Regions from separate parts of the Homo sapiens genome. Here all the other regions are linked to region 1. Evidence: promoter capture Hi-C in 16 types of primary human blood cells and fetal thymus (Javierre and others, 2016). All regions are on one chromosome and are shown on one strand. Each heading gives the region's core, a stretch centred on a gene start or on the middle of the fragment in contact. The rest is flanking DNA. Distances are from core to core; before and after follow the strand shown.

Region 1 (3,797 bases), core at 512-3,011:
TGAGACTCTGTCTCAAAAAAAAAAAAAAAGAAAATGTTCTGGGAGCGGGGCCACGTGCAGTGGTTCACACCTGTAATCCCAGCACTTTGGGAGGCCAGGATGGGTGGATGGCTTGAGGTCAGGAGTTTGAGACCAGCCTGGCCAACATGGCAAAGCTCTGTCTCTACTAAAAATACAAAAAAATACCTGGGCGTGGTGGTGCATGCCTGTGGTCCCAGCTACTTGGGAGGCTGAGGTGGGAGGATCACTTGAACCTGGGAGGCAGAGGTTGCAATGAGTCGAGATTACACCACTGCACAGAGCCAGACCCTGTCTTAAAATAATAATAATAAAGTTCTGGGATAATGGTTGCACAAAAATGTGAATGTACTTAATGCCACTGAACTGTACACCTAAAAATGATAAAGATGATAAACTTCATATTATGTGTATTTTACAATTAAAAACAAGAAGATGAGCATGGGCCAGCTCATCAGGAGTCTTTTATGCAATGCCTGAGACATCATCTTAAAGACTGGATAGCATCAGGAAAGATTCTGAAGGAGACTCAGGGGTTAAAAGAGAATTCCCTATATCTCAGGACAATGCAGACAGTAGGACAATTGAGAGAGTAAGAATAGAGTTTTGCACAAAACAGGCACTCAATGAATACTGGTGGAATAAAATATCCTCCACTACTACCAATTTATCTTAGGAGAGAAAAGCAAGAACTGTTTTCCAAGACAACGCTGAAACGAATGCGCCCAATCTTTGAGGACTCCGCCTTTGCCCAACAGCTCCTCATTTCTGCTGTGGGCATACGGAGGGCGCTCATTCTCGGGGACAGTTCCCAAGGTACCCCCGCCTTCCATGGCCACACCCCACCACGCCCTGTCCAATTTGCCACCAAATCCCTATCCCTGCTCCAAAAGGCAATCAAATCTCCACCTCCAGTCACTAGGTGGATGACTTAGTGCCACCACTAAATTCTCTTGAGCCAGACTCCTCCGGGAGGTAAAGGAGGGTGGGATGATAATACTCGCCTCTCCCAGCAGCCGTGAGACAGAGGTAATGTACTCACTACCTGGCAGAAAGAGAGTGTTCCCCAACCTGGTTGCTCCCTTGGATACTGAAGGCATCACGCTGTACTGAGATTCTCTCTACACCTGTCTCCCACCCTACCCACCCCAAGAATGTGGGCTCCTGGACGCGAGGATCCATCTCTCCGGGACCTGGAACAGCTGACTTCGCCCGCCAGGCCTCTGGGAAACCCTGGCCGAGGGCTGCTCGAATGCCTCTAGGAACCAGGATTAACGGAAACGAGGCTGACAGCGGGGCACTAGGAACTCCCAGTGTGAGGTTCGCCGCCGCCACCCACAGCCAGAAGAGTCCAGGGTTGCCCGGTGTTTCTCCCAACCCCCTAGAACCCAGAAAGTCTGATTTTGGGGTAAAGCGTCGTACCTTTTAGACGCTAACAACTATCTCAAAAAAGCTTACGGACCAACCAAGACGCTACTACGGCCTTCAGTCGCCCAGTTGAGACCCCTGTACCTACGCCAGACCCGCCGGGGGACTGGGGCGGCATCCCCACCGGCCCTTGGGAGGCCAGGCAGCCACTTACGAAGGATGAGAAGGACGGGAGGAGGATCCTAAGAACATTGCATCCAAACACGAAGCTGAGCACCAGCAACCACGCCCAGTGGTCGGCCGCGGCTGAGCTCATCCCGGACGCTCCTGGCTGTGCTGGGTCCGCTACGGCAGCTCCATGGGGACCACAACAACAGCGGCGACCGCGCCTGCGCGGTGAAGCCAAGCGCCCCAGAACAGGCGCGCCGACGCGCCTGCGAACTGCGTCGCCCTCGCGGGAGGCGGGGCCGTTTTTTCGTCCGGCTCCAGTTGGAGCGGTTAACACGTTCCGGGTTTCTCCTGGGCCTTCGGCGGTTCCGTAGCCTTCTAGCACCCATCCCTACTGAACCAGTTTTCTGACGTCCGTGTTTCTTTTTTTCCTTCTTTTTAAAATTAAAAACCTTCTCATAGTACCAAACTCTGGTTTCAAGTGCTAACGACTCCCTGCTTTTGTCATAATTAGTACTTTCTTTAAATTAACTTTTAATTCTAGATAAGTTTAAGAAAAACTCTTCCATAAATAGAAAACTACCGTTTTTATAGTAGCAGGTAACTGTCGTGTTCCAAGCAGTTACATGGAAAATGCCTTACGTTTTCGTTCCAGATCTAAACACTGTAGTAAGTCTAACCAATTTACACAACTGCATACCTGAAAAATAAGTTTAATAGAATGCACTGTTCACAATCATTAGTAATAGTTAATAAATTAACCTGAATCTAGGTGAAGATCAGGTTTTGCAGCGAAAGAATCCCAACTCAAATGTATGCAAAGTGAGCAGGGCGAGGTGGCTCACGCCTGTAATCCCAGCACTTTGAGAGGCCGAGGCGGGCAGGTCATGAGGTCAAGAGATTGAAACCAGCCTGGCCAACATGGTGAAACCCCGTCTCTACGATACAAAAATTAGCCGGGCGTGGTGGCGCGCGCCTGTAGTCCCAGCTACTCCGGAGGCTGAGGCAGGAGAATCGCTTGAACCCGGAAGACGGAGGTTGCAGTTAGCCAAGATCGCGCCACTGCACTCCAGCTCTGGCGACAGAGCGAGACTCCGTCTCAAAAAAAAAAAAAAGTATGCCTAGTGGATAAAGCAAGACATGTTCAACTGTCTCTTCTGCCATGCTGCCATGACTGGTTTCTGAGGACTAATTCCTAATCAAAATGATGCAAGATTGCGGGTACACTGGCTCACGCCTGTAATCCCAGCACTTTGGGAGATCCAAGCAAGGTGGATCACAGGCCCAGGAGTTTGAAACCAGTCTGGGTAACATAGTGAGATCCCCATCTCTACAATAAAATATAAAAATTAGCCGGGCACTGTGGCACGTGCCTGTGGCCTCAGCTACTAGGGAGGCTGAGATGAGAGGATCGCCTGAGCCTGGGAGGTCGAGGCTGCAGTGAGCTGTGATCACACCACTGGACTCCAGCCTGGGCGACAGAGCACAACTCTGGCTCATTATTATGAACCAGTTAAAATAATTATGCGGCTGGGCACAGTGGCTCAAGCCTGTAATCCCAGCACTCTGGGAAGCCGAGGCAGGTGGACCACCTAAGGTCAGGAGTTCGAGACCAGCCTGACCAACATGGCAAAACCCTGTCTCTATTAAAAATACAAAAATTAGCTGGGTGTGGTGGCGGGCACCTGTAGTCCCAGCTACTCAGGAGGCAGAAGAAGGAGAATCGCTTGAACCTGGGAGGCGGAGGTTGCAGTGAGTTGAGATCGCACCATTGCACTCCAGCCTGGGTGACAAGAGTGAAACTCTGTCAAGAAAGAAAGAAAGAGAGAAAGAGAAAGAGAAAAAGAAAGAAAGAAAGAAAGAAAGAGAGAGAGAGAGACAGAAAGAAAGAAAGAAAGAAAGAAAGAAAGAAAGAAAGAAAGAAAGAAAGAAAGAAAGAAAGAAAGAAAGGGAAAGGAAAGGAAAGAAAGAGAGAAAGAAAGAGAAAAAGAAAAAGAAAAGAAAAGAAAGAGGCTGTGGTTCTACAAATTTCTGTGTCAAGAAAACATGTGAAGCAAAACTATTCTGTAGTGGTAGAGTGAATTCCTTCCCTGAAAGGACTTATTGGTTAAGTGACTTCTGAACTGACCAAAACAAAGAGCAGGAGTCTGGCTCTCCTCCATAGCCTTCCCTTCCACCTGGATGGACCACGCAGCACGGCAGCCAGGCTCCTGGCTCCTCTCTCACTGGAGATTGAGATGGAT
Region 2 (3,797 bases), core at 929-3,428, 620 kb after region 1:
AGATATTGAGTATTGTTACCATTAGCTACCAGGGAAGCACAAGTCAAATCCGCATTGAGTTTGTGCGCCCGTGTTCACAGCAGCACGATCCACAACAGCCAACAGGTGGAAAACAACCCAGGCGTCTGTCCAGAGATGCATGAATAAGCAACATGTGGTCTCTTCGTACCATGGACCATTATTCAGCCTTAAAAAGGAATGAAGTACTGACACAGGCTACAACATGGATGAACCTTGAAAACACTATACTAAGTGAAGAAGGCCAGACACAAAAGACCAGAAATTGGCTAGGCGCAGTGGCTCATGCCTGTAATCCCAGCACTTTGGGAGGCTGAGGCGGGCGGATCACCTGAGGCCAGGAGTTTGAGACCAGCCTGGCCAACATGGTGAGACCCCATCTCTACTAAAAATACAAAAAATTAGGCGGGCATGGTAATGGATGCCTGTAATCCCAGCTACTCAGGAGGCTGAGGCAGGAGAATTGCTTGAACCCAGGAGGTGGAGGCTGCAGTGAGCTGAGACCACGCCACTGTACTCCAGTCTGGGCAACAAGAGCAACATTCCATCTTAAAAAAAAAAAAAAAGACCAGAAGTTGTATTATGTCATTTATATGAAATTTCCAGAATAGACAAATCTATAGACATGGAAAAATGGATTAGTGCTTCCCAGGGGCTGGGGAGAGGTGGAGATGGGGGATGAATATTAACAGGTATGGAGCTTCTTATTAAGGTGATAAAAATAGGCTGGGATAAATGATAGTGGTGGTTGCACAGCTGTGTGAATATCCTTAAGAAGGCCAAATTTCATCTTATGTGAACTGTATCTCAGTAAAAATAAAAGTCAAAAGAAACCTGGAGGAAACCAAGACTACACCTACTGTTAACACCTTTAGAGAGATGAGATGAGTTTTCTTCTATGCATCAAGAATGAGAGACCATACAGGAGATCGAGACCATCCTAGCTAACACGGTGAAACCCGTCTCTACTAAAAATACAAAAAATTAGCCGGGCGTGGTGGTGGGCGCCTGTAGTCCCAGCTACTCAGGAGGCTGAGGCAGGAGAATGGCGTGAACCCGGGAGGCGGAGCTCGCAGTGAGCGAGATCGCGCCACTGCACTCCAGCCTGGGCGACAGAGCAAGACTCTGTCTCAAAAGAAAAAAAAAAAAAGTGAGAGACCATAAAAAAGCAACATTTGGAAAATAACAAGCACTGGGCAAGCTTGGGGAAAGTCACATGATAGCCAAAATGAAAGACCCAGTACAAGGATTAGAAGGCATGGCTGGAAAATTGTATTAGAAAATAGAGCAAAGTGAAAAGAGAGAAGAAAAGGGAGAGAATGTATGAAATTGGAGGCCCAGACCAGGAAATGCAGCTTCCAGATGAATTCCAGGAGGAGAGAACAGAGAAGCTGGTAAGTCTTTAAAATACAATTCAAGAAACTTTTCCAGAAATGAATAACACCAGCTTGCAGGTCTAAAGGGCCTAGTACAAGAGATAAAAATAGACCTACACGAAGCCTCGTTGCTGTGCAATTTCAGAGCAGTGAGGACAGGAAGAAGATTTTACAAGCTTCCAGGGAGAAGAAAAAAGGCAACACATGAAGACTCAGGACTCAGAATGGCTGTAGCTTTCCCTGCAGCCGCTCTGGGAATGACAAGAGGATGGGGCTTTCTGCAGGAAGGTGGTTTTCGACCTGGGCTTCTACACCTATAGAAACTATCAATCCAGTGCACAGGCAGAATAAAGGCATTTTCGGAAATGTTGAGGTGTCAATTAGAAGTTACAGGTTAGGCCAGGCGTGGTGGCCCACACCTGTAATCCCAGTTCTTTGGGAGACTGAGGTGGGAGAATTGCTTGAGGCCAGGAGTTCAAGACCAGCCTGGGCAACATAGCAAGACCCCATCTCTATTAGAAAAATAAATAAAATTAGCTGTGTGAGGTGGTGCATGCCTGTAGTCCCAGCTACTCGCGAGGCTGAGGTGGGAGGATCACCTGAGCCCAGGAGTTTGAGGCTGCAGTGAGCTGTGTTCATGCCACTGCAATCCTGCCTGAGCGACAGAGCGAGACCTTGTCTCCAAAAAAAAAAGTAACAGGTTAAATATTCATCTTGCAACAAGGATTGATCTTGAAAACTATCCAAAAGGAAAAGAGTCAAATCATGACGAGATAAATAGCATGAGTTACGTAAATTAAAAGCGTTTACGTGAAACACAGTAGGCACTTTGCAGATGGTTGGCAAACATATCCCCCTGGAGTGAAAGAAGGAGAAAGGGAGAGGGAAGATGATGAAAATAGGAGGGAAAGTGAGGAGGAATGAGAGGAGCAGGGAGTGAGCAGGTGGCCTGTGTGCCTTCTACCAAAATCATCACAGAATATGAGGTCAGCTTTGCAGAATCCGAAGAACTTTCATCGAAATAGCAAAAGCCCCATTCTGCCCTCAGAGAACTTACCTTAATGTATTAGTGTGCTAGGGCTTCCATAATAAAGTACCATAGGGTAGGCGGCTTCAACAACATTTATTTTCTCCGTCCTGGAAGCTAGAAGTCTGGGATCCAGGTGTGAGCAGGGTTCGTTCCTTCTGAGCCTCCCTCCTTGGCTTACAGACGGCCGCCTTCTCCCTGTGTCCTTACATGGTCATGTCTGTGTTCTAATCTCCTCTTCCTGTTAGGACACCAGTCAGATCGGATTAGGGCCCACGCTAATGACTTCACTGCATCTTAATTATCTCTTGAAAGACTATCTCTGAATAAAGACATGCTTTGAAGTACTGGGGGTTAAAGCTTCAACAGATGAGCTTGGGGGGAACACAGTTCAGCCCCTTCCAAACAGGTGGATAGACAGCTGTCAGAGATTGGGTTTCCTCATCTCTAACATGTACACGAGAACACCACCTAGCTCTCAGAGGTGTCTGAGAATCAGGTGAGAGCCAGCTGGAAAGGGCACGTGAGAGAGCACTGCCAGCAGCGAAGCACCCAACAGGCCTCAATTCTTATTTCTGCAGGTCGAAGCCCAGATCTCCAACTCAGACCTCCATTTGATGCATTGTTTGATCTTATTAAAGCTGTAAGTTCCCAGAACCATTTCCCACTTTGCAGCAAAAGCCACGTTAGCAGAGTCTTATCGTAACATGCCTGTCCATGATGCCATTTCATGATTTGTTGTTTTGAACGGATTGAGCTGAATCATTCGGATTGGCACTGTTTTCTCTTTCTGGGTCTGACTGGAGAGTCTGGCCAGGGTCTAATCAGTTGAATTCCGGTTAAGAAAGGACCTAGTCTCTTCTCCCTACAACTCTTCTTAAGATGCTTTTATCCCAAGAAAAATGGGCTTTTTATTTAATATAAACAGAAGCACACGTGAAAGTTTGAGCCTTTTTGCAAGTGTGAAACAAAGACTTCTATTTTTATCTTTTGCCAAACTTGACATTTTGTTGTGAGCCCTGGAAGGGGCTCCTTTTTTCAGAAGGGAGAGGCCCTCCCTGCCTGGTCTCCACAGCCTCTCAGGGAATGTGGTGTTTAATGATGAGTTATTAGATAGTCAGAGGCATTTGCGGAGCTGTATGGGAGTGCCAGATCGCCCTCTGATAATAAATTGAGCTAAAGTCTGTTGGCATCGCAGACAGGGCTGTGTTTAAGTGAAAATCTGAAACCTGACCAAGAATATGGAGCTAAAGTTTGAGGCCTCAGCCTCCAATGTCATTTTTCTGAACGACATCCAGCAGATATCGGATAAGCAGAAATGCCATTAGGAAAGCCCCAGGAACTACTCGCTGAGTAGACAGAAGATGCCTAAAGGC
Region 3 (3,797 bases), core at 900-3,399, 600 kb after region 1:
TGCTTTCAAAATTAGTTGGCGAAAAGTAGTTATTTTCGTTCCTGGTGCATGCTTGAGAATTCTGAATTCTGATGAAGTGAGAAAAACAAACTTACACATTTTTTGCAAATGTAATGGAATTTGTATGTATGCAAAATTCAGTTAATGAGTTGAGATAAGGTTACATTTTGTAGACATTTGATGAACCTATTTTAACTTCCTGATGTTTCTTTCTTGTCTAGGCTTTCAAATATTTTCATAGGCGCTAGAAAAGCTATAGGCTCAAAGCAACAGCCCTGATGCCCAGTGGAGAAGCTAGCCTTACAGAAAGTGTTCTTTTCATTTCTTTTCTATTATTCACAAATTCCTTTCCATATCATTCTTTCAACCTTCTTATTAGAATTGACTTTCAAGTTGATATATTAGTTTCCAAAAGAGGAAGATTCTCCCAGCCTTAATTAATGAAGAACTTACATTTCATTCCTCAAATACATGACTTCTGTCAGGATACTTCTGTACCCACCATGGATGTTATTTAGCTAGCTAAAGGGATAATGGTATGGTTACATTGAAAGAATAGACAAATCTTTACCATTCAGCTGTGCAAAAGTTATTTATAAGACATAGAAGATATACGCTACATACCCTAGTAAATGTGATCGTATAAAATAAAGGAGAACAGGCTGGGCATGGTGGCTCACGCCTATAATCCCAGCACTTTGGGAGGCCAAGGTGGGCAGATCACCTGGGGTCAGGAGCTTGAGTCTATCCTGACCAAAATGGAGAAACCCTGTCTCTACTAAAAAAATACAAAATTAGCCGGGCATGGTAGTGCATGCCTGTAATCCCAGCTACTCGAGAGGCTGAGGCAGGAGAATCGCTTGAACCTGGGAGGCAGACATTGCAGTGAGCCGATATCGCACCATTGCACTCCAGCCTGGGCAACAAGAGCAAAACTCCATCTGAAAAAAATAAAAATAATAAATAATGAAGGAGAACAAACCAGATGCTGATAGAATTCAGAAAAGGGGTGTTCAGGGAAGTGTATCTTGGAGGAGGTGGATCTGCCATTGAAATGAAAGGGTAGGCAGGATTTCAACAGGCAGAAGAGTGAGATCAGATTGAGATTTCAGATGGAGAAAGGAGCATCAGCAAGGAGAGATATGCTGGTTTTCTACTGCTGCCAAAACAAATGAACAGACATTTGCTGGGTTAAAACAACACAAGATTATCTTACAGTTCTGGAGGTCAGAGGTCTAATACAGATCTTGCCAGGCTAAAATCTAGGTGTTGGCAGGGTTGCATTCCTTTCTGGAGGCTCCAGGTAGAAATGCATTTCTTGCCTTTTTCAGCTTCTAAGGCTGCCCATTCCTTGGCTTGTGGCCCCATCCTCCATCTTCAATGCCAGCAACGGTTGGTTGAGTCTTTCCTGCATCTCATCGATTTGACACTGACTCTTTCAGTTTCCCCCTTCCACATGTAAAGATCCTTGTGTTTACATGGGTTCCCACCTGGAGAATCTAGGATAATTGTATTAGGCCATTCTTGCATTGCTCTAAAGAAATACCTAAGCCTGGGTAATTTATAAAGAAAAGAGGTTTATTTGGCTCACGGTTCTGCAGGCTATGTAGGAAGCATAGTGACTGTATCTGGTTGGCTTCTGGGGAGGCCTCAGGAAGCTTCCAATCAGGGTGGAAGAAGATGGAGCAGGCATCTCATATGGTGAGAATGAGGGCAAGAGAGAGCAAGTAGGGGGAAGGTGCCACACACTTAAAAACCAGATCTCCTGAGAATTCACTCATTATCACAACAGCACCAAGCCATGAAGGATCCGCCCCCATGACCCAATCACCTCCCACCAGGCCCCATTTCCAACACTGGGGATTACAATTCAACATGAGATTTGACAGGGACATATATTCAAGCTGTATCAATGATCTCATCATTTCAAAGTCAGCCGATTAGCAACATTAAATCTATCTGCTACCTTAATTCCCCCTTGCTATGTAAGGAAATATATTTACAGGTTCCTAAGATTAAGATGTGGACATCTTTGGACAGCCATTATTCTGCCTTCTAGAAGAGGGAAGCATGAAGTAACAAGTTTACTTAGGTGTCCAGTACTGACTCCCCAAAAACATCACCCCAACAACCTGCTGGTCAGGCAAAGCTGAGTTTACTGCTTCCCATGGTAAGCAACACAACTATCTCAACAAAGTCTGCATAGTATTTTCTGTGAGTATGACAAAGTTGGGCTATTTGTAAGGTTTAGGGGGTTTGGCAGGTCTTTCAATGGGGAAAGAAGTTTGAATAGGATTAAGGATCATGATATAATGGTTCAGGATTGGTGAAGACAGCAAGGTGAGGGTTTTAAGGCAGGGTTCTCAGAAGTGTATTGGAGAGTAAATAATCCTTGATACTAGTTATTGAAGAGTTGAGTAGTTTGATAATCACTTAAATTAGTTTTTCTGGGAAGTTCCTGAAACAATACAATTAGTAACTTTTATTTCCTGGGCAACGATTTCTTAGAATAGTAAAGTCATATTAGAGAGGGCAACTTAATAGTGAAGTTCTGCCAACGCAGACAGGAAAGCATGTGGGTGTTGGTGGTTTCTGCTCGAGTGATAGACTGAGGCCATAGAAGGCTTTCGACCAAGCTTGTCCAACCCACAGCACACAGACCACATGTGGCCCAATACTTTTTTAAGATATTATGATATTTTTTTGTGTGACTATTTTTTTTTTAGCTCATCAGCCGTTGTTAGTGTTAATATATTTTACATGTGATCCAAGACAATTCTTCTTCTGATGTTGCCCAGGGAAGCCAAAAAGAGCTATATGCTATTTTAAGGAATTTGAATTTTATTTGGATGAAATGTACATAACCACTTGCATGAGAGGAAGACCCTGGCAGCAGGTTGGAATGGAGACAAGATTGGAGCCTGGAGGCTTATGAGGTGGATATTGAAATGGTTCAGGCAAGAGGAATTGAGGACTTCAACCAGAGAGAGATTGCAGCATTTACTGCTTATTTGCTCATTCATCCAGAAAATACTCTACCAGTTTCATCTGTGTGATGCACTGTCATCCACGCTGGGGTTCTTGGGGACCAATATGGGCAAGGATGTGTTTTGTGGCACTTAAGGAGAGCTCACACTACACACACATGAAGAATGACTGATTTCATGACTCTGTTGAAAGACCTTCTGAGTCCAAGACTCTGATTTTTTGGCAGGTTAAAGTCTCATCAGCTTCAAATTTGAAATTGTCTGCATTCATTTCTTCTGGCCATGGTAACAAATGACAACAAGCATAGTGGTTTAAAACAACACAAATATATGATCTTACAATTTTAGAGGTCAGAATTCCTAAAAGCAAGGTATCTGCAAGGCTGCATGCCTTCTGGAGGCTCCAGCAGAGAATTCATTTCTTTGCCCTTCCCAGCTTCTACAGGTACCTGCATCCTTTGGCTCAGGGCCCCCCTTCATCTTCAAGCAGTATAGCATCTTGAACTCTCTCTCCCCAACCTCTGCTTTCATTACCTCATCTCTCTCTTTGAGTCTGAGACTTGTCTCTCCCTTCTAAAGATGCTTGTGATTACATTTTGGGAACATCTGAATAATCTAGGATCATCTCCCCACCTCGAGGTCCTGCATTTAATCACATCTGCAAAGTCCCTTTGACCATGTAAGGCCACATATTTACAGGTTTCAGGGATTAGGACTTGGATACCCTTGGAGGGCCATTATTCCACCTACCACACCCTCCAAGACTGGCTCTTACTCTTCTTCCCCTCGAGCCCTTCTTGTCCATTCCCC

The links. The method cuts DNA at HindIII sites, captures the fragments that hold promoters and counts their contacts. A CHiCAGO score of 5 or more calls a contact.
Region 2: a contact is called between a fragment that was not itself captured here and the fragment with the promoter of GET1 in region 1, in 1 of 17 cell types (naive CD8 T cells). The highest score is 5.0, in naive CD8 T cells.
Region 3: a fragment that was not itself captured here is called in contact with the fragment with the promoter of GET1 in region 1 in 1 of 17 cell types (total CD8 T cells); the score reaches 5.6 in total CD8 T cells.

Annotation. Positions count from the first base shown.
Region 1 is chr21:39,378,290-39,382,086 of GRCh38, reverse strand. GET1 (guided entry of tail-anchored proteins factor 1) reads right to left here and starts at 1,761. Exons shown (of 5, transcript NM_004627.6): 1 at 1,601-1,761. The coding sequence starts at 1,702. It overlaps GET1-SH3BGR (GET1-SH3BGR readthrough), which reads right to left and starts at 1,761. Exons shown (of 14, transcript NR_146618.2): 1 at 1,601-1,761. The HindIII fragment of the contact is 3,691 bases long and covers 1,474-3,797 here.
Region 2 is chr21:38,759,470-38,763,266 of GRCh38, reverse strand. The region is part of intron 1 of LINC00114 (long intergenic non-protein coding RNA 114); the gene reads left to right. Among named protein-coding and RNA genes, the nearest start is that of LINC00114, 12 kb to the left of the region's middle. The HindIII fragment of the contact is 1,211 bases long and covers 1,573-2,783 here.
Region 3 is chr21:38,776,519-38,780,315 of GRCh38, reverse strand. No RefSeq gene overlaps it. Among named protein-coding and RNA genes, the nearest start is that of LINC00114, 4.9 kb to the right of the region's middle. The HindIII fragment of the contact is 978 bases long and covers 1,661-2,638 here.